Linked DNA regions of Homo sapiens: all the other regions are linked to region 4. The links are contacts of gene promoters, found by promoter capture Hi-C in human tissues and cell types (Jung and others, 2019). All regions are on one chromosome and are shown on one strand. Each heading gives the region's core, a stretch centred on a gene start or on the middle of the fragment in contact. The rest is flanking DNA. Distances are from core to core; before and after follow the strand shown. Region 1 overlaps LINC02099 (long intergenic non-protein coding RNA 2099). Region 2 has its middle 21 kb from the start of LINC02209. Region 3 overlaps LINC02099 (long intergenic non-protein coding RNA 2099). Region 4 holds the start of DCTN6 (dynactin subunit 6).

Evidence for each region. Contacts are between HindIII fragments. The study calls those that stand out against the background at their distance.
Region 1: a fragment that was not itself captured here is called in contact with the fragment with the promoter of DCTN6 in region 4 in 1 of the 25 tissues and cell types used here (mesenchymal stem cells).
Region 2: a fragment that was not itself captured here is called in contact with the fragment with the promoter of DCTN6 in region 4 in 1 of the 25 tissues and cell types used here (aorta).
Region 3: a fragment that was not itself captured here is called in contact with the fragment with the promoter of DCTN6 in region 4 in 2 of the 25 tissues and cell types used here (IMR-90 fibroblasts and lymphoblastoid cells).

What each region holds. Positions count from the first base shown.
Region 1 is chr8:29,791,626-29,797,489 of GRCh38, forward strand. It overlaps LINC02099 (long intergenic non-protein coding RNA 2099), which reads left to right. Exons shown (of 4, transcript NR_125815.1): 3 at 1-256; 4 at 5,210-5,864. Among named protein-coding and RNA genes, the nearest start is that of LINC02099, 46 kb to the left of the region's middle. The HindIII fragment of the contact is 3,847 bases long and covers 2,440-5,864 here.
Region 2 is chr8:29,897,335-29,903,386 of GRCh38, forward strand. No RefSeq gene overlaps it. Among named protein-coding and RNA genes, the nearest start is that of LINC02209, 21 kb to the right of the region's middle. The HindIII fragment of the contact is 3,848 bases long and covers 169-4,016 here.
Region 3 is chr8:29,774,644-29,780,206 of GRCh38, forward strand. The region is part of intron 1 of LINC02099 (long intergenic non-protein coding RNA 2099); the gene reads left to right. Among named protein-coding and RNA genes, the nearest start is that of LINC02099, 29 kb to the left of the region's middle. The HindIII fragment of the contact is 7,253 bases long and covers 114-5,563 here.
Region 4 is chr8:30,152,451-30,158,082 of GRCh38, forward strand. DCTN6 (dynactin subunit 6) reads left to right here and starts at 3,919. Exons shown (of 7, transcript NM_006571.4): 1 at 3,919-3,956. The coding sequence starts at 3,934. It overlaps DCTN6-DT (DCTN6 divergent transcript), which reads right to left and starts at 4,210. Exons shown (of 1, transcript NR_186490.1): 1 at 3,379-4,210. It overlaps LOC124901927 (a long non-coding RNA gene), which reads right to left. Exons shown (of 2, transcript XR_007060880.1): 1 at 5,574-5,632; 2 at 4,722-5,432. RefSeq lists enhancers at 3,010-3,219, 3,044-4,026, 3,970-4,119 and a silencer at 4,180-4,289. The HindIII fragment of the contact is 3,226 bases long and covers 2,497-5,632 here.

The DNA.
Region 1 (5,864 bases), core at 3,113-5,612, 360 kb before region 4:
GTGAGGAGAAAAATATTCCTACTAAAGTTTTCCATTTGTTTACCTTCCTTGTCACATAGACTTCCAAGAGTTAGAAGTCTAGGATTTGATCTCCAAATCTTCCTGGCAGATTACTCATCTTCATTTCATTCATATAGTCCAGGGGTTTGTACAAAGGAAGATGCCAGTTCTTCCCCAATCATAACTAAGATATCAAGAGATATTCTTTTGAAATGTAACAAAGGAGATCTGAAGTTCATCTGAAAAAAATAAATGGGTAAGTATACTGACAAATATTTTGGCAAAATAAAAGTAATGAGGAGATACTAGCATTAGCCTCATCAGGCATTAAAATATATTATAAAGTTATAATATGTAAAACAGCATGGGACTGGCACTGAAACTGACAGTTCAACTGAAGAGAATAGACAAGTTAGAAGTAAGTCTTGATGTATGTAAGAATTTAATAAATTTGAAAGATGGTAAGGAAAGATAGGATTGCTTAAAAAATGGTTTTGGTGCAATTGATTAACTTTTCATAAACTGGGTCAGCTCTTACTAGATATTGCTCTGAGACACTCACCCACCCCAAGTGTCCCCCAGCTCTCTGAGCTTCCCAGCTATATGACATCAGAGCTCAGGAAACTCTGGTCCTCTCCATCCTGGTCTCCCACCATTTTCTCTGCAGCCCCCAATCTTCCTGAGATCACAGCTCCCATGGGCACCATTACCCTCTACTGCCAGCATCACTCTTGGGCAAGGAAAACTCCACCCTCCCATGAGCTTCTTACGACAAAGTGTGGTCACAGGCCTCCATAACTCCCATAGAACACCCGAGATCAGGAAATCTGCAAGTATCTGGGATGTCTTTATTATAGTCAGTGGTTGCCAGAGGTTAGTGGGGAGGGAGGGATGAATAAGCAGAGCATAGAGGAATTTTAGGGCAGTTGAAACTACCCTGTATGATACTATAACGGTGACTATATGACATTTTATATAGTCCAAACCCATAGATTATATTGTTAAAGAAGAAATTATTCTGCCACTTGTTAAAACAATAATGAAGATTTTATTCAGGACTATTACGATGGGTGTTGAAACTTACTACAACAGGCTAGAGAATTCAGGCTCAATTCCAATATAACAAAGACAGCTGAGGACTCATAGCCCATGAATAGAATGAGGGAATCAGTGGGTGGAAAATTCCTAAGAGGAGAAATCAAGAGCAGAGAGATTCTTGTTAAACCAACTTAGGGTTCTTGCTAAAGGCAAGCCAGGGTGACCAGATATCAAGAGTGGGGGAAGCAGAAATTGATCATACATCCAGAGTGATCAGATTTCAAAGATGTAGCGTTTCTCACTAAACTGACCGAGCAAGATTTTTTTTAGACAGAGTCTCCCTCTGTCACCCAGGTGGAAGTGCAGTGGTGTGATCTCAGCTCACTGCAACCTCTGCCTTCCGGGTTCAAGCGACTGTCCTTCCTCAGCCTTCAGATAGGTGGGATTACAGGTATGCACCACCATGCCTGGCTAATTTTTTCGTATTTTAGTAGAGACGGGGTTTCATCATGTGGCCCAGGGTGGTTGCAAACTCCTGAGCTCAGGCAATCCTCCTGCCTTGGCCTCCCAAAATGCTGGGATTACAGGCGTGAGCCACCGCGCCCAGCCACAAGATACTTACTGAGTGATGCAAGCCCAGCAAGGACAGGCCGGAGGCCCAGGTCGAGGCCTAGTCAAGAAGAGGACTCAGAGGAGCATAACAACAGCTTGGTCAAGGATCAGGAGTCTTTGTCAGTGTAACACCCAGAGTGAGCTGTAATGTAAACTATGGATTTTGGGTGAGAATGACATGTCAATGTAGGGTCATCAATTGTAACAAATGTCCCACTCTGGTGCAGAATGTCAATAGTGAAGGAGACTCTGCAGGTGTGCGGTCAGGATAACAGAACAGAACTCTGTATTTTCTGCTCAATTCTGCTATGGATCTAAAACTTCTCTAAAAATTAAAGTCCATTAAAATATTTTTAAATTAAATTGGTTTAAAAAAGGAAATGAAATTGGATCATTCCTGACTATGGCACAGGTAGCAAGACCAGCCCTATGCCCTTCCCTAGACAGGAAGTTTCAAGCCAGATCACTAGCTCTGGTGCCAATCGATCCCTAGAGATTTGATAATCTTTGCCATGCCCAATAGTAGGAGTGCTGGTTCTTTCATGCATGGCTCCCTGTTCTATCATCTCTCTCCACTTATCCTCTGTTCTGTTGAAAACACTTCGGATTGGCTACCCAAGAGCTACTCATAACCCCTTCCCGCTTGCTTTAATAAGGGTTATCGGGAAGGGATTTGGGGAATGTTTTTAAAGGCCACAGACTGAACCAGTAGACCCCCTTTAGCCTGTTGCCCTTTCTCCATTCATCTTGCCTAGAATGTGGATGTAATGTCCGTCTTGTGACTCTGAGGATGAAAGCCACAAGCCAAGGATAGCAGAGTACAAAGAGAGAAAGAGGCTGGGATATGGATGACATTGTGAACTCTGGACTGCCTATTTAGATATGTTTTGCCTGAGACGAATGGATACTTTATTGTTTAAGCCCTTTATAGTTGAGATTTTGTTACTTTCGGCCAAACATAATGCCAATTGTTATATTTTTCTACTCCCCAAATTAGCAGAAGGGGCAAATCAGCAAACCTACTGCATAAATATCCAAGTGGGATGCTGGGATCCCTAATTTTTTAATGTGGTTTTTAGTGGGAAAGCATTATTTATCTCCACAGCACAGCACTTCCTGCTAGGTGAAAACTTGTACTTGCAATGATTCTCTCTTCCTGCTTCCAGGGTTCTGCTTTTATAGATAGGGAGTAGTGGGAGAGGATATTAATTGTGATAGGACTTATGCTATTTCTACCTCATTAACAATTTTTAAAATATTTAAGAATGTGGGATATTGCATCTGAAAAAGACTATCGACTAAACATGGTTTAGACTAGTGATGGTTTGTGGGTCTAGAAGTAATTTTTTAACATAAAAATCAGTTCACCTCTCTACTCCTCTACCTTCTGTGGAAGATTGTATTACATCTTTGCCCCATGGATATTGGGCTTGGTCAAATGACTTGCTTAGACCAACGGATGTGAGCAGAGGTTTTCAGCGTGCTTGCTGGTTTGGCGGCTTTCCCTCTTGTCTTTCTGCTATCTGCCATTAGCAGAGCATGCTCTGGCAGCTTCCATCTCAGAATGCAGAGGCAGTTGAAGCCATCAGGAACCCAATCTTCAGCTTGAAGCAGAGCCTCCACAATTGACCCACAGAACCATAAGCGAAAAATAAAGTTGGTTCTTGTAAACCATTGAAAATTGGGATTGCTTGTTATGCAGCATTAGGCAATAATAGTTGACTAATACACTTCCAATGTCTTTCAGCTCATTCTGAGGAGAAAGTCAAAGTTTACAGAGTGATTCAAAAGAATCCTCATATTCTGGCTCCATTTACCTCTCTGACTTCATCTTCAACTACTTTTTTCCCTTCTTACTCTGCTCCAAATACACCATCCTCCTTCTTCCTCCTCTAACATGCCAGATGTGTTTCTGCCTTGGGACTTTGCACTTGCTGTTTCTCCTGCATAGAACACTTCCTCCAAATTCCTGCATGGCTTATTTGTTAATTTTCCTGTGATTTCCCTTTCTTTAAGAAAGTCATCTCAGTGAGAAGTTATCTAACCATCTGACTGTAAACTGCATTTCCCAGTACTCAGTAGCCCCTTCTTTGATTTACTTTTCTATTTAGCACCAATCATCATTTATCCATTCTCTTCCCACCACCCCACTACAGGACAGGGACTTTATTTTATTCACAGCAGTATTCCCAGGGTCTAGTCAGAGCAGTGTCTGGCACATGGTAGGCACCTGTTGATTATTCATAAATGAACAAAGGGATAAAGGAACAAATTAAAAATCTCAACATAAAAATTTATAAATAATTCCTAAATTATTTAATAAAATATTACATTTTTCTTTAATAAATAAAAACAATACACAAATGACATTTCATAAAAAATCAATGGTTAGAAAAAGAAATATAGGTGCTCTTGTTTGTAATCAAAGAATCAGGAATTAATGTTACAGAGAGGTATTCCATCTCCTTTCAAATTGGCAAATGTTTTAAAGAATTATAATACTCATGATGGCAGTAATTCTCTTTGTCTGGCATGGGTAATCTCACAGACTGTGGGTGGAGATATGTAGAGATTCATCCTCTTGGGAAAGCAATCAAATGCCTTTACATCTTTATACCTTTACATCATCGGTCCACTAATTTCCCTTCTAGAAATCCTTCCCAAAGAAGAAATCAGTGTTGGAGGCAAGAAATTACATATCAAAAAGTTTCTTACAATGTTATTCATAATAACACAAATTTAGAAAAAAATCTTATCAGTCAATAATAGAAGGATCATGACATGAATCATGGTGTATTTTTAGAAATTTCTTATGTTTTTTACTTTTTTGATCGATACATAATGCTTTTACATATTTATGAGGTACAAAGTATCACATGTACCCCATCAATATGTAAAAGTATTATGTATCAATTATGCATAGAATGTGTCATGATCAAGTCAGGGTATCTGCGTGTCCATCATCTTCAGTATTTATCACTTCTATGTGGGAACATTTCAAGTCCTCTCTTCTATTTTGAAATATACAATACATTGCACGTGCACCACTGAATTTAAAATAGAAGTTTTATAAAAACGAGAACAAAAATGCAGAGATGCCAGAGGCTTACATGAGGTCACTTTGCAGCACCAAAGCCCATTGTGATCCACTCCTGTTAACAGAGGTGGGGGGAGTAGATAAATGGGTGGGTGGGGAGTGTAAATGATAAAGCTGGGGCATAAGAGTGGGGAAACATAGGACACCCCCAAATAGCCATCTCATTTTTTCTGTTTCCCTCCATGCCAAAAAAGCACATTTTTACCTAATAAAGGAAGGTGGTATGGAGCAAGCGAATGTGACTGTCAGTCAAGCAAGCTTGATGCATCATTCCCCGCTTCCACACCTCCATGCCCCAACACAATCCCTGACCTTCCTCTGCCCACTGGAGCACCCCACCTGGACTGTGTGTGCCACAGTTCCCTTCATTAGCTCCCCCCACACACTAGCTTTCACATGGACACTCCCTGAGCAAGTAGCGCTGAGCTGAGCCCAGCCCTCTTCCTCCCCATTTCCGGTAAGTTTTAGGCGGTCATGACCATGGGATGCTGGACCAGGATGGTAAGCTTCAGGAAACAGAATCTGGAGAATGCCCAGCTGCTCCCACAGGAAGCATCAGGGAAGAAGAAGAAGAGGTGTGAAGTCTGCCTTCTGCTCTGCTGGGATCCCTTTCACATCTCCTTTGCCTCCAGGCAGTTTTGGTTCCTGGCCATTTCCAGGTGTGACTCACTCAGGATGGTAAGCATCTTCTCTCCTACCCAGAGTAGAGGATGAAGACCTCATCTCAGAGGTTGAAGGGAGCTCCAGAGAGAGGTCTCAAACTTCCAGCATTAACTGCTAAAGAAGCTTCATGAGCTGCTGGAGAACCTGGGAAATGACCAATTATAGGGACAGAGCTCAAATACTCTGGGACACTCTAGTAGCTGAGAAAGTTCCAACTCCAGGGTGATAGAGGACTGCCTGGCAAACCATCATCAAAGCAGAAGACCTGATACTAACATCACAGGCTATGGTTTATTACTGAAGATCAGTGCTTACACCCTGCCAGAGGTTCAGAAGCAAACTTATCATTGTTCTCCCTGGAGATGTTGGCCCACATTCTGAAAAGTGTGGTCAGTAGTAGCAACAGAAAGCAATTGTGCTTGCCAAGCACAATGTCACTGTCCCCAGCCCTTCC
Region 2 (6,052 bases), core at 843-3,342, 260 kb before region 4:
GGCTGATAGAATGACCCTCCAACCACGGCTGCACAAAGCTGGTAACAAGAAAATTTCCACAGCAATGTCTGTGACTTTAGATCAGAGTCAACACCTCTGTTTGGAGGCAGGTCCTCCATATTTAATACAAAGCTTTCTTTTCTGGCCTGGCATAAAATTATTTGGAATGTTTCTACCCTAAGAAAACAGAACATAGAAACAAAGCTTTTTTATCTCCCTCCAGGTCTTGTCTCCAGATAATGAAACTCTGTCATTAGGCTTGTAAATACTCCTCACTTTAGGGGTGATGAGATTCAAACTGTGAGTCTAGGGAATTTCCTGGTAACAGCTCAGCCAGGAAAATCAAAGCTGAGTTTTCTATCCTTGATATTGAAACGTTCCTATTCAGTGAACAAGTGGTTACTGAAAATTGTATGGGGGCACTTTATGTTCTCCAAGGGACTGTGAGCCCCTGTGATGTTCACAGTCCACAATGGGGACTCAGCTGAACCTAAAGCACTCAGGCACGGCCACGTGCTCCATGCTCCTTACTCTAAATAGCACCAAGTACTCCAGGAACTTGGAGCAAAGTGGGCCTGGCCTTGAAGTACTGCCAAGATTTCTAAACACAGCAACAGGAAGGAGGCATTCCAGGCAGAGACAAGAGCATGAACAGAAGAAAGGCAGGGCAATGTGTCTTTGGGGGATGGTGAGTGAATCCAATTCATTTGGAGTCTACTATGTAGGGGAGCATACAGAGAATACTGGGAAATTGGAATTTCTGGAGACTCATTCTATCATGTATGGCTGCATTAGTCCATTCTCACGCTGCTGATAAAGACATACCTGAGACTGGGTAATTTATAAAGAATAAAAGGTTTAATGGAATCATAGTTCCACGTGGCTGGGAAGGTCTCACAATCATGGTGGAAGGCAAAAGGCATGTCTTACATGGCAGCAGGCAAGAGACAGCTTGTGCAGGGGAACTCCTCTTTATAAAACCATCAGATCTCATGAGACTTATTCACCATCATGAGAACAGCATGGGAAAGACCTGCTCCCATGATTCAATTACCTCCCACTAGGTCCCTCCCATGGCATGTGGGAATTGTGGGAACTACAATTCAAGATGAGATTTGGTGGGGACACAGCGAAACTATATCAATGGGCTTTCATTTAACCTTTGCAGACAACAATTACACAGCCCTACCAACTGGGGAGGATAGAAGAAATATGACTCTTGGAAAAGTGCCTTATGTTCTTTAGAACATACTTGATCAATACAGATCTCATGGTGGCACCTTGTCTCTGTTTCCAGGATAGGCCAGTGCATTGCCATCCTTTCATTATATGTCTCTCTTTCTTGCTAGACTGTGGGCTCCTTGCGGGCAGTGACTGTTTCTGACCCAACTTTTAATCCTCAGCACTCAGCACAATGCCCAAAACATACAAGGTGCTCAGCAAGCATTGAATGGATTAATTAAATTAAGGAGTTAACAGATATGAGCACGCACCCTACTTGTCATGGCCACTTGACTTGTGCAAAAAAGTACTGGAAAACAATTGCAGTTCATATGGAGAAACTATATCTAGGGAAAATGTGGTGGTGGTGCAAGCAGCAGGAGAACCAGAAAGTCATTCCATGGTGCAGCAGTAACCAATGGTGCAGGGCTCCTTTCTGATGCCCAGAACTGCTGGACACCCAACCAAGAAGCACACGAGAGCCCAAGTAAATTTCTTGCCAAAGAGTGCATGAAGCACAGCCTATCATTCGAGATTGCCTCTCAATGACTTTGAAGCAAAACACTGGGTTTCTAAATTACCATCACAGCTAAGCAAATTGATCATCTGGAATTTGTAGCTGGCTTGTTAGACTGTATCCAGGGAAGGGGTGGCGGGGGCTGGTAGCAGGTTTGGCTCAGCTGCCTATAATTTTAAGCGCTTAATGGGATGATAATTTGCTGTTCAGTATGTTCATTTTGAAAAGCTTCCCTAATTCAGAGGGGAAAATGAATAAAACCAAGCTTTTTACTCCAAATCTGTGTGGAAACATCAATATCCTTCCATCAAGGAAACAGGTGGTTAAGAAGACATGGAAACATGGAAGAGATTGCTAGTGTCCCACAGGAAAAAAAAAAAATGTGCCTGCTGGGTGGTTGGTTGTATTAACTTACCATGAGAAGCTTCTTATAACAAGAGCTAAAATTCTAGTTCTTCTACACCAGGGGTCTTCAACCCCCAGGCCACAAACCAGTACCAGTCTGTGGCCTGTTAGGAACTAGGCAGCACAGCAGGAGGTGAATGGCAGGAAAGGGGGCAAAACTTCATCTGTATTTACAGCTGCTCCCATCACTTGCTTTATCACCTGAGCTCTACCTCCTGTCAGATCAATGGTTGCATTAAATTCTCATAGGAGCACAAACCCTATTGTGAACTGTGTATATGAGGGATCTAGATTGTGCACTCCTTATGAGAATCTAATGCCTGATAATCTATCACTATCTCTCATCACCCTCAGATGGGACCATCTAGTTGCAGGAAAACAAGCTCAGGGCTTCCACTGATTCTACATTATGATGAGTTGTATAATTATTTCATCATATATTACAATGCAATAATAGAAATAAAGTGCACAATAAATGTAATGCACTTGAATCATCCCCAATCCATCCCCACACCCCCACCCCGTGCCTAGGTCCATGGAAAAATTGTCTTCCATGAAACCAGTCCCTGGTACCAAAATTGTTGGGGACTGCTGTTTTTCACACTAGCCATCCCAGTTCTTCACAGTCCCCAGGAGATTTCATGGACCTGCACAGTGAAGAAGAGACACAAATGAACAGAGGGTGTGTGTGTGTGTGTGTGTGTGTGTGTGTGTGTTACCTCCATGTGCATCAGGTTATTGGGGCTGGCATTTCCTGACAACAGCTTCTGTGAACTGGTGATCTAGAATATTTTCCACTCAAATCAAATGTGAAGAGTTTCTAGTGACATTAATTTAGTTGACTTCTTTCTTAATACATCTCATGCAATCACACATCTTTTCTTTCTTGCGTCTGAAATTAATTCTACATGCCTTGTAAGTTTCTTAAGGTAGATCATGTTTCTATATTGCATATTTTGCATATGAAGCCTAAAAATTACATTGTACACAAAGTCTAAAGATGCCAAAACATGAGTTTTTTTTAAGAGCTAAGGGCAAATTATTCTCAGTAAGAGACCAAAACTTTTTTATTAATTCCCAAACTCATCAAACATTTACAGAGCCCCTATTAGATATGGCAAAGGATAACAATTTTTATTATTATTATAAAAACAATCCCTTTCATTCATTTATTCTTTAATTGTCTGAATATTTATTTATCTCTTCTAGGGTCAGGCACTGCTATTAGCTAAAAATTCCAGATGAATAAGATATAGTGCTGCACTCCAAGAACACACACTCCAGAGATTAACATCCTGAATTATTATTAGCTTACTTCTGCCCAAAGACAGAGGGAGGAGAATGTGATGGAAAGGCGGGACTTCAGCTGTATTTGTAATGTTTTATTCCTTTATAAATCCTAATAAAAAGAATATTAACATTTGGAAAATCTAAATGGCAAGTACATTGGTATATGATATATTATTTTTCTGCTTTTCTTGTATATTAGAAATAGTATATAAACATTGCTCTGAAAACTAGATCATGATGATGATCATGATGATGATAAGAACTGTGTTAAGAATGATGTTAGAAATCTGCAAAGGGCTGGGCATAGTGGCTCACACCTGTAATCCCAGCACTTTGGGAGGCCGAGGCAGGTGGATCATTTGTGCTCAGGAGTTCGAGACCAACCTGGACAACATGGTGAAACCTCATCTCTACCAAAAATACAAAAACATTAGCCAGGCATGGTGGCACACATCTGTGGTCCCAGCTACTCAAGAGGTTGAGGTGGGAGGATGGCTTGAGCCTAGGAGGCAAAGGTTGCAGTGAGCCAAGACTGTGTCCCTGCAGCCCAGCATGAGTGACATAGCAGGACTCTGTCTAAAAACAAAAAAAAAAAGAAAGAAAGAAAGCAAAAAATATGCAGAATATTGTGTGAGTAATAGAAGGTACATAAAATCCAGTCTAGGAAAAAGAGCAGGTCTTGAAGCCTCCTCTAGGAAGCCCAGAGCTGAAATGTTTCCCCAGGAGTGAGTCACAGTCTCTGCTAAAAAAAAAAAAAAAAAAAAAAAAAAAGTTCTACTGAGCAGATGAGCAAGACAGACTCCATGGCAGAGAAGCAGGGCAAGACCCCATCTCATTCTGTTCCTGCTACTATAAAACAAATACTGTAGGGGGCGAGACCAAGATGGCCAACAAGAAGCAGCAGTGATTGGAGGTTCCCATCAAAAAAACCACAATAAGTGTGTAAATCATTCACCAGCAACCAAGTTATCCAGGTTCTGTCATCAAAATTGACTAGAAGGCTGGCATGACCCAGAAGGAAGAACAGTGTGGTGTGGTGGCCCACCTGAGAGCCACGCAGGGAAGGGGAAGCCCCTCCCCACAGCCAAGGGAGGTGACTCCTTAAATGACATCTCAAGGCATGAGAGCAAAACAAATGAATAGGGCCTGAAGTAAAGCCCCAGCAAACTGCAGCATCCCTACAGAAGAGGGACCTGACTATTGAAAGAAAAACAATCAGAAAGTGACAACAACAGCATCAACAACAACAACAAAGCCCCCACAAAAACCCCATCCAAAGGTCAGCAGCCTCAAAGACCGAAACTAGACCAACTCACGAAGATGAGAAAGAATCAATGAAAAAATGCTGAAAACCCAAAAGGCTAGAGTGCCTCTTCTCCTCCAAATGATCACAACGTCTCTCCATCAAGGGTGCAGGACTGGACAGAGGATCAGATGGATGAACTGACAGAGGTAGGCTTCAGAAGATGGGTAATAAAAAAACTACGATGAGCTAAAGGAGCATGTTCTAACCCAATGCAAAGAAGCTACGAACCTTGATAAAAGATCAGAGGAATTGCTAACTACAATAGCCAGTTTAGAGAGGAACATAAATGACCTGATGGAGCTGAAAAACACAGCACAAGAACTTGCATACACAAGTATCAACAGCCAAATCGACCAAGCAGAAGGATATCAGAGTCTGAAGACCACCTTACTGAAATAAGACATGCAGACAAGAATAGAGAAAAAAGAATGAAAAGGAATAAACAAAGCCTCCAAGAAATACAGGACTTCATAAAAAGACCGAACCTACGATTGATTGGAGTAGAAGGCGACGGGAAAAGTGGAAATAAGATGGAAAACACACTTCAGGATATTATCCAGGAGAACTTCCCCAACCTAGCAAGACAGGCCAACATGGAAATTCAGGAAATACAGAGAACACCATTAAGATACTCCACGAGAAAATCAACCCTGTCAGACGATTACAGTACCTTGAATCATCCTTCATCTAGATGTTCTTTGTCCTCATTTCCCAGAGCCAAGAACCATAAGTCAGTAACTTGTCTGTCAAAGATGTAATTTTACACCAAAGAACCCAGAGACTTTGTCTTCACCCACCAGGTGTTGGGTACAACCTCCAGCCTGGGCTGGGCCCTTGCTGGCTACAGTCTCTGGACACTTTAACCTGACCTGCTGAACTATCTGGGGAACCTGTTCTCAGTCTGAGCTACAGCTCCTTCTGCCTTGCTCTATCCTTGTACTGTTGGGTTCTGTTACGATAAGAGGTCTGTTGCCCAATGTCTGCAGCAAGTCAATATGTTGAGACACTGGGACAGCAGAGGAAAAGGTTTACTCACAGGACCACCAAATGAGGATATGGCAGGGAACCTCAAATTCATCTCCCTGAGGAGTTTTGGGCTAGGGTTTGTGAGGGGTCTGGAATGGGCTGAAGCTTGGAGATCATTGATTGGTCAAAGAGTGCATGGTGAAGTCAAGAGAGAGAAAAGAAGAAACTGTATTCTCATGCTGATTCCATTCGTTCCCCTGTGGGGGTCTTCAAATTGATTGACATCAGTTGTCTCCCTGGAATTCAAGAACTGAAAAACATCTTAATCAATTCTTAAACCAAAGTCT
Region 3 (5,563 bases), core at 2,490-4,989, 380 kb before region 4:
AACAGAGATTTGAACTCTGGTTCATCTGACACCAATGCCAGGGGCTCTGGAAGCTGCTTATTCGTTCGCAGGATGCCCCTGAGGTGGGGGCCATGTGCACAGGTGTTCCAGTATCTTGGCAGAGATTTTTGCTCTCCTGGCATTGGGACTGTGTGGGATCAGTGCCCGAGGGCCCTGGGATTAGCTTGGCATAAAGGGAACTTGAAGAAACCATTCCTAAGTCAGATCAGAGGGCTGGGGCCAGAGCTGTGGGCAGGAAGCAAGTGAAAATGAGAGCAGAGGTGAGTCCCTTCCAATGGGAGAAGAAACATGACTTCATCTTCCACATTCTATGTCCTTCCAACCACCAGGACCTACTGACGCCGCAAGTATACAGCTGACTATGAAACTGAAACTTATTCACTATTTCTGAGCCACTTATAATGAAACGTCCTGTGCACCAAAAACACAATTCTGCAAATTCATTAGTTTCTATCATTAAAAATAGACATGTGTTGACTTCAACAATAAGCTGTGCTCATCAATGCTGTCATCTTCATTCAGGGGATACATGGCACGATCATCAACCTAAGAATGATTAAAAAATTAGAAGCACATGTTGAAATGAGGTGAACAGGAGAGCAGGGTCCAGAGTGAACAAAAAGGACAACAGAACCTGAGGCAGCCAGATGGCACTGGCAGAGACACTCAAGATGGGAAAGTCAAAGGGGAAGGAAAATGAGGGGCCAGAGGGGTAGACTTTTATGAAGTTTCACAGGAGAGAGAGAAAAAGAGTGCATGAATGTAAAGAAGAATTTCCTGCCACACTACATGGGAAGAAATGCTGCTCTTGGACTTTCACTAACCTTTAATGGGCCTCTTTGGAAAAAGGGGAAGATGGGTTGTTGGGTGCACAGATGTGAAGGATGACTCAGGTGGGGCTGTCTAGGGGGCAGTTAGAATGTCAGCTAAGGAAACAGAGACTCTACTGTTAAGACTGAGGATACATGCAGAAATTGGAAAGAGAACACAAAACTCCATATGGCCCTCTGTATGTTCTGCCATCATGTGTCCCTGATCAGAGTGCATGTGCAGGAAGAACCCGTAGAGTACTGCTGCCGCCATCACGGGTCATTCATCCCCATTCCCAGCCAGCCCAGTTGTGTCCTGAACATGTAGGTGGCCTGTGGGCAAGCCAGGGTCTCAGCCTCCCTCTGCTCCCTTCCTTTGTCCTCCAGCCCCAGGGAATGTGCCAGCCACTTCCTCTACAAACCCCTGGAACCCACTCACTCCCAATGGAGGACATCAACTCACCCATGAGGGATCCACCCCCATGATCCAAACATCTCCCATTAGGTCCCACCTTCCAACACAGCCACACTAGGGATCAAACGCAACATGAGATTTGGTGGGGGAAACAAACCATATCCCAACCAAAGCAGGCACCTTTCGTAGAACACTTTTCTAATCTCTTCTGTCACTACTCACTCAGCCCCCAAATTCTTGTTAATTCTTTTTGTGCCTAGAGAGGGTGATGAGGGTGTTGGCTGTCTGGTTTACACAGCTGGTGAGGAGGATGACCCACAGAACAGAGATTTGAACCCTGGTTCATCTGGCACCAATGCCAAGGGCTCTGGAAACTGCCTAATCATTTGCAGGCCGCCCCTGAGGTGGGAGCCACGTGCACAGGTGTTCCGGCACCTTAGCAGAGATTTTTACTAAGTAGTCAGGGGTATGTGCAGCCCAGGAGTTCATCTACATCTTTCTAGGATCCCTTCCTTGAGCTCCCTCTTCTCTGGCATCTCCCTAACACTTTGCAGCTTGTAGGTGGTCCCCTTCCGGGTACACAGGCTAGAAATACAGGGCTTTAATTTCTCTGTTCTGTTGTGCTCTTCCTGCAACTACATCTGCTACCCATTCTGCAGTACTTGGAGTTCTTCCCCAATCTGTCTGTTATTGTTTTACTTTTCTGTGTCTGCCGGTAGCTGCTCCCTGCATTTTCTCCAGGGATTTTCACTGCATTCAGTGGGAGAGACAAAGTGGTATGTGCTTCATGCATTTTGACCAGAACCAGAACCCACCGAGCGTTTTTAAACAGTTAAAAGGCATGTAGCTCTCTATTCCAGAAGGCTCTCTTTGGCTGGAGCAGGGAGAATGGGTTGAGAACGATGTTAGAGGCACAGAATATAGCAACCTAAGAAGCAGATGCCACAGGCTGGTTTTAAGGCAATGGCAGTCAAAGGGGAAAGGAGAGAGTCCCAGAGCTCCTCAGAGGTGAATTCTGCAGGATATGATGGCCAATTCGATGTGGAGGTGGAGGCATATGAAGTCTCCAGAATAATTCCCTAAGATGGAAACACGAAGATGAAAAATTTGCTCCATGAATGTCAGCCCTTGAGCAAATTAGCAGGCAAATATTCCTCCCCTAGACCAGAATGAGCAAATTTAAAATCTCTTTCAATTTTCCTTCTCTACACTACTGGATCATTTGCCTTTGTGTTATCAGCCATGCTAAGATATTCTCCATTCTAACAAGATGTATTTGAGCCCATTTGAAGCACCAAAAAGTTTACTATTGATCTCTGTGTCATTTTTCATAGGGCAAATTCAAAATAGGTTTTATTCGCATAACAAACCACCACTTTAAATTGTGAAGTAGTCAGAAGTAGAGATTTTATAGTGTTATGTGTTGCACCATGGTTTTAATTTTTTATCTGTGTTTAAAAATTTTGCCATTTGATTCTATGATTTGTCAGCAAAATACCATTATATGATATTTCAAATATATAAAACATTTTTAAAGGAATTAAGAAAAACTGAGCTTGCCTGGGTTGTTTGTTAAAGCAGCTAATAGTGGTGCTGTAGTGATGCTAGTGTAGCAGTAGATAGCATATTTTCTTGATTTATTTTTGCAGAAGTAGATATGTCTTTCTATGTTTTACATAAACCCCACACACAAACATACCATGGGTATATGTCCATACTCACAGGCCCACACCTCACCTGCTAATACATTATTCAGTCTTTCAGTTCCTTACAAATGCTACATTCCTCTCTCCATTATCTTTCACATTTAAGTTAAACAATGATTAGTCATTTTGACTGTGGATAATTTGCCTCTTAGTACAAATATATTTTCCTCTGCCAAGTATGCTTACAAAGCGCGGGGCCCAGAACCCATGTGGCTTGATCACAATACCAAGATGGTGGTCTATTTCCTACCACTAGTACAATCTTCCTCACAGTGCAAGCCATGTGCTTAACTTTGGGTAGAAAAAAAAAAACAAAAACCTAAAACTGGAAAGAAATTCCCAAGATAAACAGTATAATGGACTGAGAATGAAAGCCCTTATATTTGAGACAGAATTGGATTATTTCTTAGAATGGCTTTTGAGAAAGGAATCTGTGGGCAGAAGAAGAAAGAGATTCCTTTTGTGTGGCTTGCTGCAAGTCGACAAAAGAAATGAAAGGAGAGGAAGGGCTTGGGAATCAGCTGCTAACAAGGTCCTTAATTTGGGCTAAATCTTCTAGGGCTTAGGAGTTTCAGATTGCGTTCTTGTTATATAAAGAGCCTTACTACAAGGCACCACTCTTTCGCTGTTTCCCGGGTGGGTAACTGTTTCTCTTTTCCTAGACACGGGACAACGCTGAGTCAGAATGCTTAGTTTGATCAATTAGAAAAGAAAGGTGAGTGGAGGTATGAGCTCCAGGTTTTTTGTTCATGCTTAAGCATAAGAAAGTCAGAACATTGCCACTGTGTTGTTTGACAAGCGATATCCTTTATCTACACAGAAGGACAGAGCTTTGGGTAAAAAATTCTACATTGCCCAGACACTGGGCAATGCTCCTAATTGTGTATGTTTCTGTTGTATTTCTCCAATTGAAATTTTTCTGAGAGCCCACTTTCTGGCATCAATGGCATTTTATTTCTGTGGCTCACTCAATAATAGGGACCTGATGCTGTCTGTGGGATCTGGCAATCCTCAGCTGGGCACATTCTTTGGTCAAAGTTTTGCAAAAGGTGTGGTCAGCACAGCTTGGGCTGGAGATTATGCCGGAAAAGGAGGCTGAGATAGGAAGTCAGCTGGATTTAAGTGCTTTGCAAAGCACATGCAAGGTTTTGTTAATACACTACAGTTGGTCAATTGAAAACATTTTCAAGTACCCCAGGGTGCTGGGTAAGAGCTAAGTATAGGAATAAATTCCACATGTGAAAGCACTCAAAATAGCACTAAACAACAGACTCAGAAATATTTGGAGTAGGCTCTGTCTGCAAATCTCACCAAAAGACAAGCAAAAAATATCTCCAGGAGACCTTGGATTCATTTTAAGACTCAGACAGCTTGGTCAATTGCTGCAATGAATGTGTTCATTGCAAGATATTTTGGATTTGCTTCATTTATTCGTGAATACTCAATGGCTAGTTCATCATTCAAATTGCTGCCAAAACACTTTTCCATGAAAAGACATTAGGCAGCTATGGAAAAGGTGGGTGATGAGGCTTAGGAGGAGGAATTCAGATTTCCTGTGTCAGATAACCAAGGACAAGGTGAGTTGGAAAGGGCCCTAAAACCTAGAGATGCACCTCAGGGCCAGAAGTGTGCAATGGTAGTTGCTTCTTGGCCTCTTGGCTAAGACCAAGTGCAGAAGTGTGCAATTCAGCCAGAGGGAGAACCAGAGCCACACAGGTGGGCCAGCCTCTGGTTAAGACAGGATCACTGTAGCAGTAGGAATAATAATGATGAATTAGCAAAGATTTATTGAGCACTTACTAAATTTAACTTGTTCACGGCCTCACTGCTGGGAAGTGGCAGAGCTGCAATTCAAACTCAAAGTCTCTGACCCATAGCCCTGGTTCTTGACGATTATTCCAAAAGCCAGGCCAGTCAGGATCCTGGGTTTCCTTGGCCACAGTGCAAACTCTTGGGAAAACTTCGCATTTAGAGTTCTGGTACCAAGTGGGCCATTTTGCATGGGTGTGCAGGTGTGTATTACACAGTTCCAGAGGCCACTGACTTCGTAGTTAATGTGGCTGCCACCCTCACCCTGAAACTGCACAGTAGACCAACTGATGACTATCACTATGGCCCCAACATTTCTATTCTTCAGCTTTTACAAGTGAGATACCTGCCCTGCTGAGAGGAAAATGACTCTGACCCAAGGCCACTAGCTGCAGAGAAAAGTCAGGAGTGGCCTGCAAAGGGTATCTCTTCCCTCTGGTGATCCATTACTGCCTAGGGTCCTGCAGTGTGGGATCCACTCATGGCTGATAAATAAATCAAACATGATACAGGAATTTGTGAAGAGATAGGTATAGGTAAGGAAGCTTGATTTTTTTGCTTTCGTTTTTTTTTTAAGTCTGATCTACCCCAGAGAAGCCAAAGAATGGAATTGCCATCCAAGTGGATAAGGGTCCTGAACTGTGGGCTTTCCCAGAAGCAAAAAAAAAGGGAAATGTTTGGAAGCAAGAGATGCTCTAGTGGCAACTGATTAGTGCTGTGGGAAGACTAGAAATGCTGTTGTTAGAAAAATTAAATCACTGCATGTTTGGATTTGCACCCCACAAAGGAACCCTAAGTGCTTC
Region 4 (5,632 bases), core at 2,669-5,168:
CACTGGCATGATCTTGGCTCATTGCAACTTTGACCTCCCGGACTCAAGTGATCCTCCCACCTCAGGCCCCAAGTAGCTGGGGCTACAGGCACGTGCCACCATGCCTCGCTAATTTTTGTATTTTTTGTAGAGACAGAGTTTTGCCATGTTGCCCAGGCTAGTCTCGAACTCCTAACTCAAACAATCCACCTGCCTCAGCTTCCCAAAGAACTGGGGTTACAGGCGTGAGCCACTGTGCCTGGCCTTAGCATTAATTAATTCCTACCTGTACGGTTTACATTCTGGAATCAGTACATTTTATTTTCAGGTTTCAAACAGTTCGTTGATCCCCAAAAAGCCTATAGGCCCTAGACACTGTACCTAATACTGATAAAATGATCCTTTATAAGTATGCCATAGAAGTCTTTCAAATTAATATAAATACACATTGCTTGAAAATGGATAGGTGTTTACATGGTTGGCAGTGACAAAACACTCTAAATTCATTCATATACTTATTCAACAAGTTTAGAGGAATATCAACCATGCACCAGGCACTGTGGTTGGTGCTGAGTAAAGAGTGGGAACAAAACTCACATGGCTCTAACTTCATGGAACTTAAGTCTTTGGAGGAAATGGTAAGATAAGTAAGTATAGCTGGTGATGAGTGCAATCCTTACCCCACAGAGAAAATAATTAGAATAGGAAGGGTAGCCTATTTTTGATTAGATGGTGCTATGGTCTGAATGTTTTTGTCCCTCCAGAATTCATATGTTGAAATAATACCTTCAAGGTTCTGTCCTCTCTGCCGAGCCTCACATCTGATATTTTATTGACTACTTGGCAATTAAGAGGTGGGACATTTGGGAGGTGATTAGGTGATGAGGGCTCTCATCAGACACAGAATGTCCAGCGCTTTGATCTTGGACTCCCCAGCCTCTAGGACTGTGAGCAATAAATGTCTTTGTTTATAAATAACAGTAGTCGCACTTATCCATGGTTTCATCTTCTGTGGTTTCAGTAACCTGTAGTCAACATCAGTCCAAAAATATTAAATAGAAAATTCCAGAAATAAACAATTTGTGAGTTTTAAATTGCACACCATTTTGAGTAGCATGATGAACTCTCGTACCATGCTGCTCTCTCTAGGCAAGAACATGAATCATCCCTTTGTATCCACACTGTTGGTACTACCTGCCCATTAAAGCTTTCTCAGTTATCAGATACATTGTTGCAGTATCAGAGTACTTGTGTTCAAGTCACTCTTATTTTACTTCATAATGGCCCCAAAGCACAAAAGTAGCGATGCAGGTGATTTGGATCTGCCAAAGAGAAACTGTAAAATGCTTTAAGTGAAAATGTGAAAACTTCTTGATTTCAAAAGGAAAGAAAAAAAACTATATGCTGAGGTTGCTAAGATCTATGGTAAGAATAAATCTTTTACCCATGAAACTGTTAATGAGGAAAAGGAAATGTGTGCATAGTATATAGAGGGTTCAGTATTATCTGTGGTTTCAGGCATCCACTAGAGGTCTTGGAATGTATCCCCCGAGGATAAGAAAGGACTACTATACCCAGTCTAAGGTATAACTGTCCCTCAGTATGCTTGGGGAACTGGTTCCTGGACACCCTGATGCCAAAATCTGCAGATGCTCAAGCCCCTGATATAAAATGGTGTAGTATTTGCATATAACTAACTGATGCATATCCTCCCATATCCTTTCAATCATCTTTATATTATTCAGAATATCTAATACAATTCCTACATATCACTTCATTCATGTGGCTTCAATGTAGCACTTGGCATGCAGCAAATTCAAGTTTTGCTTTTTGGAAACTTGCGTAATTTTTTCCCCCAAATTTTTGATCCAACGTGGGTTGCTGTCAACCAGTCACAGATGTCAAACCCACAGATACAAAGGGCCAACTGTATTTTGTTATAGCAGCCAGAAAGAACTAAGACAGTCAAGGAGGGTTTCCCTGAGTGTGATGGTCAGTTTTTTGTGTCAACTTGGTTAGGCTACATTCCCAAGTCATTAGTCAAACACTAATCTAGATGCTGCTGTAAAGGTATTTTTGTGGATGTGATTAAAGCCCATCATCAGTTCACTTTAAGGAAGAGAGATTATCCTAGCTAATCTGGGTGGGCCTGATTCAATCAGTTGAAGGCCATAAGAGCTGAGATGGGCTTCCCTGAAGAAATTCCTCCTGTGAACAACAGCCTCACCCCTTGCATGAGAGTTCCAGCTTAGTGTACAGATTTTGGACTTGCTTAGCTGGGGCTCCACAATCATGTAAGCCAATTCCTTACAATAAGCCTTTTGATATCCATCTACTACTAGTTCTGTTTCTCTGGTTGGAAACTGAGTATGTGACATCCGAGACATAAAGGGTCAGAAGGTGTTAGGGTGGGGGCAAGTGGAAGCGGTTGGGGGTGGAGAGTCAGCTTTGCTTTTTTGGAGAATGAGGGTGTGATCGAACACATAGAAAGAGAAAGAGAGAAGTAGGCAGGGGCTGGATGTAGCTCAGAGATAGGTTATGGAAAGCAGTTTGGATTTTAGATTTTAAGAGGAAGGGGAAATAACTGAATTTGGCTCTTATTTTTAATTTTTTTCCATTAAAAAAATACATTATAGAAAAAATATATAGAGACGGGATCATGCTGTGTTGACCAGGCTGGTCTCCAACTCCTGGCCTCAAGCGATCCTCCCATCTCGGCCCCCCAAAGTGCTGGGATTACCGGTTTGAGCCACGCGCCTGGCCTCAATTTGTCTTTTAAAGGATGATTTTGACTACAAGAGAACTACTTGGATCAGGGTTGGGGGTGGGAGATGAGGAGGTGTGATTTCAGAGGCCAAGTACAGAATGAGTGAACAACTGGGAGAGACACATCGGCTGAGATTAGAGAGATGGTCCGGTAGACAAAAGTGTAAGCATGAGACCCGAGGTAGGACAAGCAGAACTTGCAGATCTATTACAGATGTAGGGGTGAGGAGTGCCAGGGTGACTCTTGAGTGTCTGGCTTGAGCAGCTAGGCAAATGGTGTGGATCAAAAAAGCAGCAGGTTGCAGGGAGGACGGCAGTGTTAATCGAAAGTCATGTTCTGTAAGTTTTAGGTTCGATACGACTCTGAGCGGAGATGTCAATTAGTCAACCGAATGTCAGGTGTGAAGATCGGCACAGAGGGCAGAACCAGAGACATTCATTAGAGAGCAAACAGGTAGAGGGCACTTAACCTATAGGAAGGATGCACTCATATAGAGCGAGAAAAGGGCCAGAAGGAGCCCTAATGAGTAGAGAAAGACAGGCTGAAAAGGACATCGGCGAGGTCAGAGAAATACCTTTAGGGTGTAATTACGCCTACGCGAGTGGGTAAAATGAGGGCATAATGACGCGGACTGGATTGCAATAAACAGCTTTTATTCTTTTATCAGAGACACGATCTAGCTTTTTAGCCCAGGCCGGAGTGCGGTGGCATCCTCACAGCTCGCTGCAGCTTCACTGGGCTCAGGCGATCCTCTCGAGTAGCTGGGGTACAGGCGCAGGCCACCGTGACAGGCTTTTTTTTTTTTTTTTTTTTTTTTTTTTTGAAGAGAGGGTCTCACTATGTTACCCAGGCTAGTCTCGCAGTCTGGCACTCCTGGCCTCAAGCGATCCTCCTGCCTCGGCCTCTCGGCCTCCCAAAGTGCTGGCCTGTGCCCAGTCAATGGCTGTTCCAAATTAGGGTCTACCCATCTCTATGCAGGGCTAAAGTCCGCGGGCGGCCCCGCACCGCTACCAAAAGTACAGTCCTGTGCGCCCAGACGCGACGCAAACAAGAGTCGCAAGCTTCCGGGTCCCCGCCCCACCCCGGCTCCGCCCCTCCCCCAACCCTGCCAGGCTCTCCAATCGCATGTGGAATTATCGCTCTACCCAGGCGGTGGTGTCGATCTACGTTCCAATTGGGGCCGTACCATGGCGGAGAAGACTCAAAAGAGGTGGGTTTGCTGCTTGAGAAAAGCCTTTTCTCAGCTTTCCGTAGGGGTGGAACCTGTTCCTGGTCGCCAATGGTGGCGACTCAGAAGGTGTCTCATCCTGGGCATTCGGGCCGAAGGTACCTGAAGCCCAGACCTGGCGTCCACTGAGGGAGGGGGCGACGGAGTGGGGGCGGGGAGGGTTGAGAAGGGACGCGGAGTCGCTGCCTGGAAGGTTTTTGTTCCTGTCTGGCCGTCCCTCCCCACATGCGCCTGCGCAGAGGGGGTCTCCCGGCCGGGAGGGCGGGGGGGGCTGTGAGGGGAGGGTGACGTCAGCTTTTTCCTGGGGAAGGCCGGCTCCCTTCTCCCGCATAATCGGCGGTGCTTGGCGCCGCTGTACCCCACGGCTTGGCGCTGGATTCTCTGCTGCATGTTGCGAGACCCCCACGCCAGTGCTGGCCGCACCCCAGGCCCTTCCTGTCTCTGGAGGGTGGGGTGTGTAAAGGGATTTACGGTCGCTGTCAAAAGGGGGGCCGCGCCTGGACTTGAACTGTGACACACACACACACACATTATATAGATGCAAGGAGTACTTGCGCAGATTTGTTGCATAGATAAATTGCGTAATGGTGAAGTTGGCTTCTAGTGTACTTACCACCCAAATAGTGAACATTGTATCAGATGGGTAATTTTTCAGCCCTCAAACCCCTCCTACCCTCGCTGCTTTTAGAGTCCCCAGTGTCTGTTATTTCCCTCTTTATGTTTATGTGTACTCATTTTAGCTCCCACTTAAAAGTGAGAACATGTGCATTTGATTTTATTTCTGAGTTATCGCGTAAGGTAATGGCCTCCAGTTCCATCCATGTTGTTGCAAAAGACATGTTTCCTTTCTTTTTGATGGCTCTGTAGTATTCCATCGTATAGATACACCACATTTCCTTTATCCAGTCATCCGTTGATGAACACTTAGGTTGATTCCATACTTTGCTATTGTGAATAGTACAGTGATAGTCATAGGAGTGCAGTTGTCTTTTTAATACAATGGTTTCCTTTGAGTAGATCCTGGGTCGAATGGTAGTTCCGTTTGGATTGGTAGCTCTATATGGATTGCTGGGTCCAATGGTACTTGTGTTTAGTCCTTTGAGAAATCACCATACTATTTTCAATAGATGAACTAATTTATATTCCCACCAATAGTGTATAAGCTTAGAACTGTGACATTTTTTGCCAGGCGTGGAGTGGACAAGCTCCTTTGTAAACATGTGGGGACAGGAAGTTTGGCTTCTTCTCCGGTAGTCTTCATTGCTGGGGGCTGTTGGTGGCTGTTGGTGGCTGGGATGAGACAAGTGCATAAGTAAAGCCATTTCGAACAGCAGCAGTGTTGAGCTCCCTCTGCTGACTATTTTTGACAAAGAAAACTGACATTGTTTCTGGTGCCATAAATTAAAATGTAGATTTTTCTTCCATTTAAGTAGATACTCTGTAATCTTTTTTCATAAGCTAAAGAGGAACAGATGTACTATAAATATTATGTGCAGTAGATAGCAGTAGATAGTAGCTTACAGTGAAGATTAAGGTATTGTTGACTTGTTACTTTTACAGATCTGAGGTTAAGTCTTGCCCTCCCATCTGCCGGCTCACCTCTCTGCTCCCACCACTCCGAGATACAAGGGGTCCTTGCAGAGATATCGGGACCACGT